2 separate regions of the Homo sapiens genome follow, and region 1 is linked to region 2. Evidence: promoter capture Hi-C in human tissues and cell types (Jung and others, 2019). All regions are on one chromosome and are shown on one strand. Each heading gives the region's core, a stretch centred on a gene start or on the middle of the fragment in contact. The rest is flanking DNA. Distances are from core to core; before and after follow the strand shown.

Region 1 (7,310 bases), core at 3,371-5,870, 220 kb after region 2:
AGGGGCGCCTTCGCAGGTGCGAGTGGATTCTGGGTATCGCGAGCGTAGGCCCAGGCGCAGCCCCTCTGCCTGCGGGACTGAACAGGCAGGTGCGTCCCAGCGGCCGGGCGGGCCGGGTCTCCCTCCTGCGGGCAGGCGCCGCGCTGCGGGGCGCGGCTGGCGGAGCGGGGCAGCCGGGCGCAGCGCCCCCTGGGCCTGAAGACTGGCGGGCGGCGGGGGCGCGCGCAGGCCGGCGGGGGCGCGCCGCGCTGCGAGGCCTGCGCGCCAGGCTGCGGGAGCCATGCGGCGATCGAGGAGCTCTGCGGCCGCCAAGCTGCGCGGGCAGAAGCGGTCCGGGGCCTCCGCGGCCCCCGCGGCCTCCGCGGCCGCTGCCTTGGCACCCAGCGCCACCCGCACACGGCGCTCCGCTAGCCAGGCCGGGAGCAAGAGCCAGGCGGTGGAGAAGCCGCCGTCGGAGAAGCCGCGGCTGAGGCGCTCGTCGCCGCGGGCCCAGGAGGAGGGCCCGGGGGAGCCGCCGCCGCCTGAGCTGGCGTTGCTCCCGCCACCGCCGCCGCCGCCGCCGACTCCCGCGACCCCGACGTCCTCGGCGTCCAACCTGGACCTGGGCGAGCAGCGGGAGCGCTGGGAGACGTTCCAGAAGCGGCAGAAGCTTACCTCCGAGGGTGCCGCCAAGCTCCTGCTAGACACCTTGTGAGTGCGGCGGGCCGGGGGGCGCGGGAGCCGTTGCCACGCGGACCCCCTCGGCAGGAGTCGGGCTCGCAGCCCGCGTGCAGGCCTTGGGCGCCTTTCAGCTCTGAGCCTTCCACGTTACGGAGCCGACGCGGCTCCCCCGTTAGCACTGGGGTTATTCCTTAATTCTAAGGGCGGCGGGGCGGGGCGGTGCTTCTAGGGCTGTGTGGCCTGGGAATGGAAAGGGGGCTTCGTCCGGAGCTTGAGGGCGCGCGCAGCCGTCTTGGGACACAAAGAGTCTTTCCCGGCCATAAGCATCGTGCTCGGGGACGTTGTCTCTTGCTGGCGCGCAAAGGGTGTGGGGGCCTTTCTTAGTGAAAAGAACATAAATCCCACGGCTTTCTCTTACCCGAATCCCCTTTTTTTTTGTGTTTGCACACGTGTTTTTGAGGGTGGGTGGAAGGGAAAGGTAGAAGCGTTGAAGGAAGCATGAATAGTTTTGAACTCACTGGGAAGCAAAATCCCGTCATTGTTCCAGGCACTGCCAGGGAGGGAGCAGGGGGCGGAGGTTATTGATCCGGGAGAGAAGCGCGCGCGAAGAGATGCTCCGGCCTCGCGCGGCGGCGGGGATACCTACGTAGGGAGGCTTTTATGTGCTCAGCCAGCTAATGCTCCCTGCCGCTCGCCCTCCTGGCTGCTCCGCAGTCTTTTAGATGGCCCGAGGAGCATCTCGAGTGTCCGCGATTTGGGAAAGAGCTTTTAACTGGGCTGTTAAAGGGCTGCCTTCTTTTCTCCAAATGCGATCTGGATTCCTGCCTCGGGGAACAGTTGTGCTACAGAGAGATATTTTAACGCCCTGATATTATATTTCAGTGTCAATTTTACGAATTAAAAAGAACAATCAAAACACTAGGGGGAAAAAACCGACAAGAATAACCTAGCAATTGCATAACCTGAGAATTACTTCTTTTCTTGAACATGTTCCTTTGAGCTTCTTGCGGAAGAAATTCTCTTAGGATGAGTCGTCCCCGACAGAAGATACATATTTGGTTTTCTGTGTGCTTCACTTTTTGGTTTTTCATCTTGGACTGCACACTGAATTTTTAAAAAACGTTCATCCATCAAACATTTGAGCACCTATAGGGTGACGGCTGCCTCTGGGCAGAAGGAATACGAAGATCCTTAGGAATGTAAAACTCATGGTGTCTTCAAGGCATACAGAAAAAAAGAAGAATGTAAAACTCAAATTTGAGATAAATTTTTATTTTAAGACAAACTGATAAATGGTCAAGAAAAAGTTTTAAAATATTGACATAAAAAAGCTGTTTTTCTCCCACTAGATTGCCATGACTTTGTACTTATAAAGTCTACTAAATTATATTCAAAAAGTGTGTATAACTGTACCATTTTCGTTAAAATATTGTGTAGAAAAAAGTTTGGGGGAATATATAACAAATAATTAACTGTAGATCCCTCTGGGTGTAAAGATTACAGGAGGCTTTCACTTTGAGCACTCTCAAATAGTGTGAAGTTTGGAGTTTTTACAATAAGCATTATGTGTGCAGAAAAAATTAAAATACATAAACGTAAAGAAACATGAAAAAATGATCAGTCTTAATCATGCAAATTAAAACTGCAGTGAGCTATTTTTCCTATAATTATTGCCTGAGACTGTACAGTGAAATGTTTTCTCATTTATTTATCGGGTAAGGGTGTTCAATCCTTTTGGAAAGCGATTTTAAGACATTTATCAGATCTTAATGTTCATTTCTGAGTTTGGCTTATATATAAGCTTTAAAGGGTTAAAATTGTATGTAGGCTGGGTGAGGTGGCTCATGCCTGTAATCCCAGCACTTTGGGAGGCCGAGGCGGGTGGATCACCTGAGGTGGGGAGTTTGAGACTGCCTGACCAACATGGAGAAACCCCGTCTCTACTAAAAATACAAAATTAGCTGGGTGTGGTGGTGGGCGCCTGTAATCCCAGCTACTCGGGAGGCTGAGGCAGGAGAATCATTTGAACCCTGGAGGTGGAGGTTGCGGTGGGCTGAAATCGCGTCACTGCACTCCAGCCTGGGCAACAAGAATGAAACTCCCTCTCAAAAAAAAAAAATTCTATGTAATGTGTATTACAACTATGTAAAACGCATGTGTATGAAGAATACTGGAAAGAAATAGAGCAAAAATATAAGAGCCTTTATTAAGTTTCTCAAAAGGCTCTTCTGGACCTCTGGACTTGATTGAGTACACAGTCTTATTTTTCATAGCAGCCTGTACCTCCTTTATCACAATCATAATTAATTATTATTTGAGTAAATTGTTAAGGTCGGTAAGGGTAGCAATCGTGTCTGCTGTATCTTGTTTAGTGTTCTCTCCTTCGTGCCTAGCTCATAAAAATATTTAGTATTTGAGGCCCGGAGCAGTGGCTCACGCCTGTAATCCCAGCACTTTGGGAGTCCCCGTGGGTGGATCACAAGGTCAGGAGTTCAAGACCAGCTTGGCCAAGATGGTGAAGCCCTATCTCTACTAAAAATACAAAATTAGCAGGGCGCGGTGGCAGGCGCCTGTAATCCCAGCTACTTGGGAGGCTAAGGCTGGAGAATTGCTTCAACCCAGGTGGCAGAGGTTGCAGTGAGCCAAGATCGTGCCACCGTACTCCAGCCTGGGCAATAGACTGAGACTCCATCTCAAAAAAAAAAAAAAAAATTTAGTATTTGACATATAAATAAAAATGTCTGGTGGTGGGTTAGGATCCCTCACATTTTCGAAATGTTTGGAATGTTTTATTTTGCAACTTAATATAATTTAAGAAATTGGTGAAAAGAGAGCTCATGGACAAAGAAGGTGCTGAAACCATTCTTCACTTAGGAAATTGACAGTGCCTCCTTAAAAGCAGAAATGCATCTGGTTGTCATGTAGAAAAGACTTTTGTCTAATCTTCTGTCTTTCTTTCAGCAACAAAAAGAGAGCAGGAGGCAGCTATTCAGAAATTATTATCTTTCTGATTTTTGTTTCATTTAGTGAATACCAGGGCCTGGTGAAGCACACAGGAGGCTGCCACTGTGGAGCAGTTCGTTTTGAAGTTTGGGCCTCAGCAGACTTGCATATATTTGACTGCAAGTGAGTATTTTTTTTTCCCTAAATTGGCTTAAAAGAATTTCAGAGTTAAAATGCAATATTTCAAAATAATCTGGGGAGTTGGGGTACAGAGGAAACATTGGCCTTGGGCTGGTAACTGTTGAAGTCAGGTGATGGGGACAGAAAGGTTCATTGTTCTATTTTTGTTCCTTTTATATGGCTCATCACAGAGCTTCAACAGCATGGCCCAGGTGACACAGAGCAGGGTCCTCAGGGCTTGTGGCTTGTGGCAGCATCACCCTCAGACTGACACTGCTGAGGAGCCGGGGGCGGTTAGCTGCAGGTGTGCCTGGCTGGGTACTGAGTGGAAAGCCTTGGGCAGAATCTTCATAGAAGTCTAGAGTTGGGGAGAGTTGGAGGGTATGTTAGTAAAGGGTGTATACACCTGGAGGCTCCCCAGGCCCTCCACTCTCGCTCTGCTCTTCGGTTGAGGCAGATGGCACTGCTGGCTGTGGAGGGCCTGATTTGTACCACCTTCCCCGGCGTTATGATGGAGCAGGGACGACAGGCTCTGGCTTTGGGACCCAAAGTTGGCATGCAGCTAATTATTTAACAGCATCCAGTCCTTTTTGCCCCTAGGTACCGGAATTATATATGAATAATAAGCACATACGATGGAATTACTCAAATGGAGAACTGACCAGGCTACTAACAATAGAGTCCAGATTGGAAAAGAAGCACTGTGGAATAACTTGTGAGAGGATTCTGTGCTAAATTAGAACTTTTTCAAAGGTGGCCTGAAAAGAGGGGACTTCAGTTTAATTCCAGAGATGGTAATTCTGGGGACGTGTTTTACTTGGAGCTGGACTTCTTGTGACGTGGTGATGAAGAAAGAGGGAAACCTAAACTTCCTTGTCCATTTTTGGTGTGGATGTCTCAGAGACATCAGGTTGTAGCAGTGTCTGAAATTTGTTTCCTAAGTGTCTCTGAAGTCCAGCGCTTCTCTTCACTGTAAAGAACTGAGGGGTGGGCAGTACAGACCTGTCTGTTGGTCCTGTGTTCTGAGCATTGCAGAACCTCGACTGCTGACTTGGGACCCCCCTGGGCTCTGCTGTACCTGCAAACCAGAGGCACTGCTATCCAGGCCTTTGCCCCAGCTCCTCGGCCCTGGATGGTGCTGAAAGGGGCATCATCTGTGGGGTCGGCTGGCTCTCATGGCTGGGCCGCTCAGGCATAGAGGATGCAGGTGGCTGCTCACAATCTGGAATTTGCTCTGTCTTTCTGTAGTTGCAGCATTTGCAAGAAGAAGCAGAATAGACACTTCATTGTTCCAGCTTCTCGCTTCAAGCTCCTGAAGGTCAGTGCTTAAGAGCAGGGTCAAGGAGTGCAGAACCCATTGGTGAGATTTACAGGACCCCCCACCCAACTGTTAGCATGCCGTCTGTAGCATGGGAGGGGCCTGGAGCATAGCAGGGCCTCTCACGGGCTTTGGTTTCAGGTTGACATTTAAAAGGTGGGCCCGGCACAGTGGCTCACGCCTGTAATCCCAGCACTTTGGGAGGCCAAGATGGATGGATCACCTGAAGTCAGGAGTTGAGGACCAGCCTGGCCAACATGGTGAAACCCTATCTCTACTAAAAATACAAAAATTAGCTGGGCGTTGTAGTGCATGCCTGTAATCCCAGCTACTTGGGAGGCCAAGGCAGGAGAATCACTTGAACCTGGGAGGTGGAGGTTGCAGTGAGCCGAGATCACACCATTGCACTCCAGCCTGGGTGACGAGTGAAACTCCATCTCAAAAAAAATGAAAATAAAAAATAAAAGGTTGTGTTATTTTTTACCTTTATTTTTTGGAGGCCTATTTGGTATTGTGGAAACATTTTCAAATTCAGAGAATCAAAAAACAATAAAATCACCCAAATCCTGTCAACTAAAGGTAACCACTGTTAATATTTTGGTGTCTGTCTTTGTGTATTATTTTCTACTCTGAGAAATACATCTAAACCTATTGTCTTATGTTTATTAAGTAGAATTTTACCATTCTTTTTGTTGATAAACTGCTTATCTCATTTCCCAATGAAAAGCTTATATACTTATTTGTAACTTTAATTTTATTATTTTGGGGAATTTTTTGTACTTGGTACAAAATTTGAAAGGTAGAAGAAAATGTGTATATACACAGTGAAAAATCTTTCCCTACTGTCCCCATGCCCCAGTCTCCCTCTTCCCCACAGCCGATTTCCTGGTCTACTTACCCCATCACTGTCTCTGCATCATTGCAGTTGAGTCCCGTTTTTTTCTGATTATCAACAACACTGGTGAACCTCCTTGGTATACATTTTTGACAATTTAGAAATTTCTTCTTTAGGATCAATTCTCTTAGAAATAAGTTCTCTGGCTATTCTGGGCACACTTCCTACACCCTGCTCTACAAGGAGCAGTTAAAAAAAAAGAGAGAAAGAAAATCTCCAGGTTAAAGAATACAGATTTTTTAAAAAAGACTTTTAGCACATTATGGGTAATGTGGGGTTGGGCGGGGCTTTAATTCCATCCAGATAATGCTGGATGGCTTGGGACCACTTGGCAGTCCTTCGCTGCTTTTCTGTGCTGCAGTGGCTATGGAGTGAGCAAGGCTCCTCAGGGAGCTATTTCTATAGGAAGCACAATTCTGGACGGTATGGCTGGGGAAGCGTAAAGAGGGTTAACAAGGATAAGAAACCTCCACCCCTTCCCCTTCAGCTGTCTGATTTCTCTCCCTAAAGGTAAGCCACTGTTTCTTGGATCCCTCTTCAAAGATACATATGCATATAAAAGCACATACAGGCCAGGCACAGTAGCTCATGCCTGTAGTCCCAGCACTTTGGAAGGCCAAGGCAGGCAGATCACTTGAGCCCAGGAGTTCAACACCAGCCTGGACAACATAGCGAGACCCCCATGTCTACAAAAAATAAAAAATCGGCTAGGTGTGGTGTTGCATGCCTATAGTCCCAGGTACTCGGGAGGCTGAGGTGGGAGAATCACTTGATCCTGGGAGGTCAAGGCTGCAGTAAGCTGTCGTCATACCACTGCACTCCAGCCTGGATAACAGAGTGAGATCTTGTCTCAAAAAAACAAAACAAAACAAAACAAAAACACCACACATACCAGTATATAGCCTTAAAAAAAAAAAAAGAAATGGTAGCATACCACGTACGTTGTTTTATACCTTGCTTAACTTTTTTTTTGAGACAGTCTCACTCTGTTGCCCAGGCTGGAGTGCAGTGGTGTGATCTCGGCTCACTGTAACCTCCGCCTCCCAGGCTCAAGTGATTCTCCTGCTTCAGCCTCCTGAGTAGCTGGGACTACAGGTGCCCGCCACCACATCTGGCTAATTTTTACATTTTTAGTACAGACAGGGTTTCACCATGTTGGCCAGGCTGGTCTTGAACTCCTGACCTCAAGTGATCTGCCCACCTTGGCCTCCCAAAGTGCTGGGATTACAGGCGTGAGCCACTGCGCCTGGCCTATACCTTGCTTTACTTTGTAACTTTGGCAATTGTTCCATGTTAGTTTTGTAGAGCTGTCTC
Region 2 (7,150 bases), core at 2,898-5,397:
TTTTTTTTTTTTTTTTTTTTTTTTTTTTTTGAGACAGAACCTCGCTCTTGTTGCCCCGGCTGGAGTACAACAGTGCAATCTCGGCTCACTGCAACCTGCACCTCCCGGGTTCAAGCGATTCTCCTGCCTCAGCCTCCTGAGTTGCTGAGATTACAGGCACCTGCCACCACGCCTGGCTAATTTTTTGTATTTCTACTAGAGACAGGGTTTCACCATGCTGGCCAGGCTGGTCTCGAACTCCTGACCTCAGGTGAGCCGCCTGCCTCAGCCTCCCAAAGTGCTTGGATTACAGGCATGAGCCACTGTGCCTGGCCAGGAATGTGCTCCTTTTCAATAAACTCTCTGGTACTCTAATATATGTTTTACCTTCTTGATCCAGCATCCTCAGGGTCCAGTCTCATACATACTGTCCTGGTTCCTACAGATACATATAAACTAGGGCCTGTAGTAACTTCAGAGGATGGTTCTTTTCCTCTCTTATCATGCCCAGAATTTCCCCTGTTGGGTTTTTTTGGTGACTTAATTCTAGTTATTGGTCTAGTGGATGGGGTAGGGAGAGGAAAGGGTAGGTAGATCCTGAGGGGGCACGGGTTGTATTGCAATGTAGAGGCCTCAGTCTGCATCATCTTCAAGCAAGGCAGAGCCCTAGCTTTAGACTTGGAGGAGTGGGCCACTTTAGCAAGCCTGAGAAATTCAGAGTGATTGGTGTTTGAAGGTGTTTGCATGCACAAATCAAAATGTCCCCATCCCAAATCTCAGAGTTCTACTCCTTCCCAGCAGGATCCTGACCTTGGCATAGCAAACTTGCTGGGATTTAGAATTCAAACTTAGCTGAAGTTAGGGCCTGATTCTCAGCTGTTTTGCTGTCAGGCTTCAAAGAAGTCTTCTGACGCTCACATTTTCAATTAATTTGTCACTAATCACCGTCATTGTCAATAGCTCCTGGTAATAGCCATTCAATTCCATCATCTCTAGAATTACCACTTCCCCCAGTGTTATAAAGATCTGAGATATAGCACCCACCAGTGCGTTCCCTTCTGTCAACATTCCACCCCAGTTCAACACCACTGACAATTTTAACAATTACTTTGCTACAACCTGACATATGCTATCATTATCACTACTCTGCCAATCACAAGTCATAGGGCCCTCCCTCATTGTCAGCTAGGTGGCAGGTAACACAGTTTCAAAATTCCATTTTATGGCTAATGCCTGTAATCCCAGCACTTTGGGAGGCCAAGGCAGGCAGATCACCTGAGGTCAGGAGTTCAAGACCAGCCTGGACAACATGGCGAAACCCAGTGTCTACTAAAAAATACAAAAATTAGCCGGGTGTGGTGGTGGGTGCCTGTAATCCCAGCTACTCAGGAGGCTGAGGCAGAGAGAATTGCCTGAACCCGGGAGGCAAAGGTTTCAGTAAGCTGAGATTGCACCACTACACTCCAGCCTGTGCGACAGAGCAAGACCCCACCTCAAAAAGAAAAAAATTCCATTTTAGAGTTTGCGTTCTTGGAACAACTGCTGGTACCAACTGGTGTAGGGCAGATTCCCTATAAATAGATTCTGAGATGGAGAATTGCATACAAGGTAATTACTGGGTAGTGTTCTCTAGAAAAAATGCCTGTACAGGAGTGATATAAGGATAACTGGACAGAGTAATAGGTTTAAATGCTGTATGACTGCAACAGAGGCCTCAGTTGGTCTCACAGGGAACTCTTAAGCCAAGATGGCCCTTTATAGAGGCTGCAAGTTGAAGACAGGGGGCCAGGTCTTTGAGGCCTGCACTGAGCAGTCTTTGGATATGGACTTCCCCCGGGGAGAAGACGTGACTTGTGAGAGGCAGCCCCCTGCAGTTAGGACAACTCCCAAGGAAGTATTTTGCTGTGAGCCATCAGCAGCCACTCACCCGGCAGCTGCTGGGATGGATGCCTCAACCCTGAAGGAGGATCCTGGCAGCACCACAGTGTGCACTATAGGGCGTATTAAGTTTCCAGCTTTGGTTGTTGGTTTATGTTTTCCTCCCTACAGGTATGTCAGCTATTGCTTTGTATGTTTTGAGGCCTTAGTGTTAGGGACATGCTGTATATTTATGATAAATATATCTTTTCCATCAAGCACTCTTATTTATTCCCTTTTAATCTTCTCAAATTCTAGCTTATCAGATATTAGAATTATTACTTGTATCAGTCAGGGTTCAATCAAAAAAGCGGAACCAGTAGATATTTAAGATACTTGTGGCAAAGAGTTGGCTTACTCGATTGAGGGGGTGACCAGGTGAGTCCAAAGTCCATAAGAGCACCCCATCAGGAAGGGCAGGCTGGAAGCTGTGGTACGCTGATGGAGTTTCTTCTCCATCAGGGAAACTTCGGTTCTTTTTTGAAAGCTTTTAACTGATTGAATCAGGCCCACCCAAATTATCTAGGATAATCTCCCATGCTACTTAGTCCAACTGGGTTTATGGGCTTCAATCTCATCTACAAAATGCCTTTACAGCAACACCTAGATTCGTGTTTACTTAAATAGCAAGAGACTGTAGCCTAGCCAAGTTGACACATCAAAAGACCATCACACTCCCCAAGTTTGTTTTTTTTTTTTTTTGAGATGGAGTCTTGCTCGTGTCGCCCAGGCTGGAGTACATGGAGTGCAGTGGCAAAATCTCAGCTCATTGCAACCTCCGCTTCCCAGGTTCAAGTGATTCTCCTGCCTCAGCCTCTTGAGTAGCTGGGATTACAGGCGTGCGCCACCACACCAGGCTAATTTTTGTTCTTTTAGTAGAGACGGAGTTTCACCATGTTGGCCAGGCTGGTCTCAAACTCCTGACCTCAGGTGATCTACCTGCCTGGGCCTCCCAAAGTGCTGGAATTACAGGCGTGAGCCACCGCGCCCGGTCCAACTTTCTTTTTGTTAAAATTTTCCTGGTGTGGTGATATTAAGAGTCTTTGACAGTCCTCCTCCACCCTCACAGGATTCTGCCTCCATTTGATTCTCTGTAGGCTTGTGATTGCTTTGACCAAGAGTCTGACAGAATTGGTGTTAGGTGACTTCCAAGGCCATGTTATAATTGGCCATGGCGCTTCTCTCTTGTTCACTGGAATGCTCACTCTTGGAGCCCAGAGCCACCATGTAACAAGTCCAGCTGCCCTCAGTCCTTTATGCTGGAGAGACCACATTGAGGCACTCTGGTCAAACACAAGCCGAGTTCATCTTTTAGCCCATCTCCTCCCAAGCAGTAGACATGTGAGTGGAAAAGCCATCTTGGAAGCGGGCCCTCCCAGCCATCAAATCATCCCAACAGAGGCTACAGACATAATGAGGCAAAGGCCCACCCACTCAGTTCCCCTTTCAAATTCCTCACCATGAAATTTATGAGCATAATACGGTGATTGTCCTTCAAAACCACTAAGTTTTGGGGTGGTTTGTTAATAGAACAGTAGATAACGGGAACACCTTGAATATGTTTTTCTATGCTTTTATTTTTCCAGTGTTTTATGTATTTTTGTTTTGTGTCTCTTAGAAATAACAGCTACTCGGGAGGCTGAACCCAGGAAGTTCAAGTGAGAATCACTTGAACACAGGAGAATCACTTGAACCCAGGAGGCGGAGGTTGCAGTGAGCCGAGCTCGCACCATTGCACTCCAGCCTGGGCGACAGAGCGAGACTCCGTCTCAAAAGAAAAAAAAGAAAGAAAGAAAGAACATGGGTTTTTTTCCCCCAATCTGAGAGTCTCAGAATCAAATTCCTGAGGAGGAAGTGAAAACCTTTCACAGTTAGTATGTATGCACAGTAAAGCCCGAAACCGCACATTAAGTCTTTCTGCCTTTAGACCCACATCTTCCCTGCCCATTCTTCCTCTAGGAAATCTGGCGCCCAGTTTTCTCTGCGTAGTTGGCGCGGGGCTTCAACTCCCGGCGCTCCTCCAGCTACTGGCACCTCCCTGGCCTCCAAGACGTCTACCAGACCTGCGTCTGCCCGGGGAAACTTTGAAGTTCCCTTCGGAACCTCGCAGGCTGACAAGCAAGTCAGAGCGATGGGTGGAGGAGGTTGCCATGGAGACAGGTCCAGGGCCAGAGGCGCGGGAGGGGGAGGCGGCAGCTTGGGCTCCGATTGGCTCTGCGGGCGCGCAGCGTTCCTCTGGCGCACATGCGCAGTGACGCCGAGGCGAGGTCGCGGCTAAGCAGAGGCGCCGGGGTTTCTGGGCCGGGCTTCTCAGGACCGGGCTGGAACGTGCAGCTCCTGGCCGGGACACTCTGTGCTTTGCGGGGAAGGGAAGTGGCGGAGCCCGAGGATCCGCTGCCGCTCGGGACTGAGCCCGCCACGCAGGCGCCTGTGCCAGCGTCGCCATTGTTGCCTGTGGCCTTAGGGCCGCTCCGGCTGCCCGTCGGCCGGGTCCCAGCGACAGGTATTGATGTCCGGGCGCAGCGCGCGAGTGTCCGCGCGATCAGTGACAGCCCGAGCCCGTCCACGCGCGGGCTCCCGTGCTCGTGGCTTGCGGGAGGGCAAAGACGGGGTGGAGGCTGCTGTGGGCCCAGTCCCAGCGTTGCGCGTCGCACGGTCCCCGACTCCCCCGCTGCCCTCGACCTCGACCCTGCGGCTGAAGAGGAGTAAGAGGCAGAGGGACTTGGCCGGGAAGGGGAGGCGACAGGAGGCAAGGCAAGGCTGTCGCATCACCTCCGCAGGGCCTTGTAAACAGTTGTCTTTGGTGGCACGACTGTGCCTCAGCAGGGCTCGGAGCTGGAGCCTGGGGAGAGGTGGTGTCGGTTCTCCTCCAGATCAGGCCGGTTCTAAGGTTTCCTTCGAGAATCCTGGTTTCGAATATATCCCTAAAGAACTGTCTCCTATAGAAGCACTTAAAGGACTTGAAGTCACACCAACCTCTTCACTCTTTTCCAGTCCAACCCGCTGGTCTTCCCAACCCTCTGATAGTGAAAGGCTAGAATCGGCTGGCATTAACATGCAACGCAGATAAATGGCTCGCCCTTTCCCCTGACAGTTCCCTTGGGAACCTTGAGCACTGTATTAAGAAGAAATTCTCCTAGTTTCTTCCAAGTAACAGATTCACTTTGTTATTGTTGAGAGTCCGTTCAGTCATTACAGCTTCTGTAACATCAGTGACTAAAATAATGAAACTATTTTCTCTATAAAAATGTTTAATTTTTGTTACAACAGGTTAGAGGTTTAATCTGTTGTTTGGCTTAGATTCGAGTCATTGCCTCTGACACTACCTTTTTAATAGCAGCTCCATCCCCCACCAACCCCAAGCAGATGGCAGTTCCCTTACAAGTCTAAGGATATAGGGGAGGAAGACAAGGTAAAGCTTATGTGTGTTCATCTATGCACACTGCGAGTCTGTTTCTGTGTGTGTATATGTATAGTAGAGTACACCAGGGATTCTTGACCTTGTGGTCCATGCTTGTGTTTCAGGGTCTCTTATCCATCCCTGCAAGTTCTGGGCTCAGAATTTGTCACTAAGGCTGCTAACTCTACCTTGATTCTGTTCTGCCCTCGGCTGCAGCAGCCTTTGATATAGTGTCCTTGTGACTCTAGCATGAGACTTCAAGCAGTTGGCTCACTACTGGAGAAATAAAGGATATTGCCAGATTGACTCTCCTGTCTGTAGCAATGTTAGCCTCAAGCAAGAGGATGAACAGTTCTTCACGTTCTCAAATCCTTCTAAGGTGGAAGTCAGACAAGGCTCAGAGTGGACCCTACAATGTTGAGAAGGAAATCCTTACTTCAAGATTCTTGCGTGACACTGAGACCTGTCGACAGAATTTTAGGAATTTTCCATACCCAGACCTGGCTGGTCCTCGAAAGGCATTGAGTCAACTCCGAGAGCTCTGCCTTAAGTGGCTGAGACCTGAGATTCACTCAAAGGAACAAATTTTGGAGCTGCTGGTGCTGGAGCAATTCCTGACCATCCTGCCTGGTGAGGTTAGGACTTGGGTAAAGTCCCAGTATCCAGAGAGCAGCGAGGAAGCAGTGACTCTGGTGGAGGATTTGACTCAGATTCTAGAAGAGGAAGGTGAGAATCATAGAGCAGAGAGGGGAGGAATCCCTGGGTGGTTAAAGAAGACAACTAGCACATCTGAGCAGCTCCTTTAAAGAAATCAGGGAGAGCACTGAGAGGTCCAGGATGCATTTTTTAAAAAGAAAGAAACTGGGGAGAACAAAGGTTAGTGAGTGAGAACAAGGCTTTAACATGAGCTCCATCCTGCATGGTGTTCTCCTTCCAGATTGCTTGGGAGCAAACACACATTATCTAAACCCCCAAGAAAAACGTCTTGAAATAATGACCAGACGCAACCAAATTACCACTGTGTGAGCCCTCAGAAAGTACCTTCAGAGGTTTGCACCATTCTACTAATAAATCATTTGCTTTGTGAATTGAATTTTACAATAAAATACTTCCAAAAAAGGAAGAAAGGGTCTAGAGAACATTCCCTTATTAAGAGATAACTCACAAAATTAATATCACATAAGGATTTAGTTAAAATGTGAATTTTGTTCATACTCTTTAAGATTTTTAGAGCGAGCTTGTTTTTGAAGTCTGTTTTGATGTCTTAGGACAAGTCATTGGCCCTTTCCTCTGATGCTTTGAAGTAGGAGTGCTGTTTTTGATTTCCTTCTTACTTCTCGATTTAAGAAAGTGTAGGCATCTATTTGGTGAGGGGTTTCCTAGGCTATTCAGAAAGGACTAATCTCCCTCATGACCTCTTTCTCTTCTCTAGCTCCTCAAAACTCTACCCTTTCCCAAGATACCCCAGAGGAAGACCCCAGAGGAAAACATGCTTTCCAGACAGGATGGCTAAATGACTTGGTGACCAAAGTGAGTGTGACTGTCTTTTCTGATTTTAAAATGCCTTCTTAGTGTGTGAGGACATTTTCTGACCTGGCCCTATAACTACTGTGCCCCCAGAAGCTCTATCAAGGACTTAAGCCCCAGTTTCTCTCCTATGTTATCTTGGTCTGTTAAGGTAGGTGAATGTACTATAAAGAAAAGGTGCTTCCATTGCCTTCCCTTGATATGTCTTTCCTTACTTTGACTTTGTCAGCAATATCACATAGAGAATACGAGATTGACCTCCACAGCCAGATGGATTTAGGTTTTGTTTCCCGGCTCTACCATTGGAACTGCAATTTGGGACAAGAT

The links. The method cuts DNA at HindIII sites, captures the fragments that hold promoters and counts their contacts. A contact is called where the count stands out against the background at its distance.
Region 1: a contact is called between a fragment that was not itself captured here and the fragment with the promoter of ZNF287 in region 2, in 2 of the 25 tissues and cell types used here (spleen and thymus).

What each region holds. Positions count from the first base shown.
Region 1 is chr17:16,346,407-16,353,716 of GRCh38, reverse strand. CENPV (centromere protein V) reads left to right here and starts at 248. Exons shown (of 5, transcript NM_181716.3): 1 at 248-690; 2 at 3,688-3,786; 3 at 5,032-5,101. The coding sequence starts at 281. RefSeq lists silencers at 39-188, 249-858. The HindIII fragment of the contact is 6,129 bases long and covers 1,556-7,310 here.
Region 2 is chr17:16,566,201-16,573,350 of GRCh38, reverse strand. It overlaps ZNF287 (zinc finger protein 287), which reads left to right and starts at 4,147. Exons shown (of 6, transcript NM_020653.4): 1 at 4,147-4,399; 2 at 5,422-6,022; 3 at 6,729-6,826. The coding sequence starts at 5,620. RefSeq lists enhancers at 4,083-4,582, 4,583-5,084. The HindIII fragment of the contact is 5,740 bases long and covers 788-6,527 here.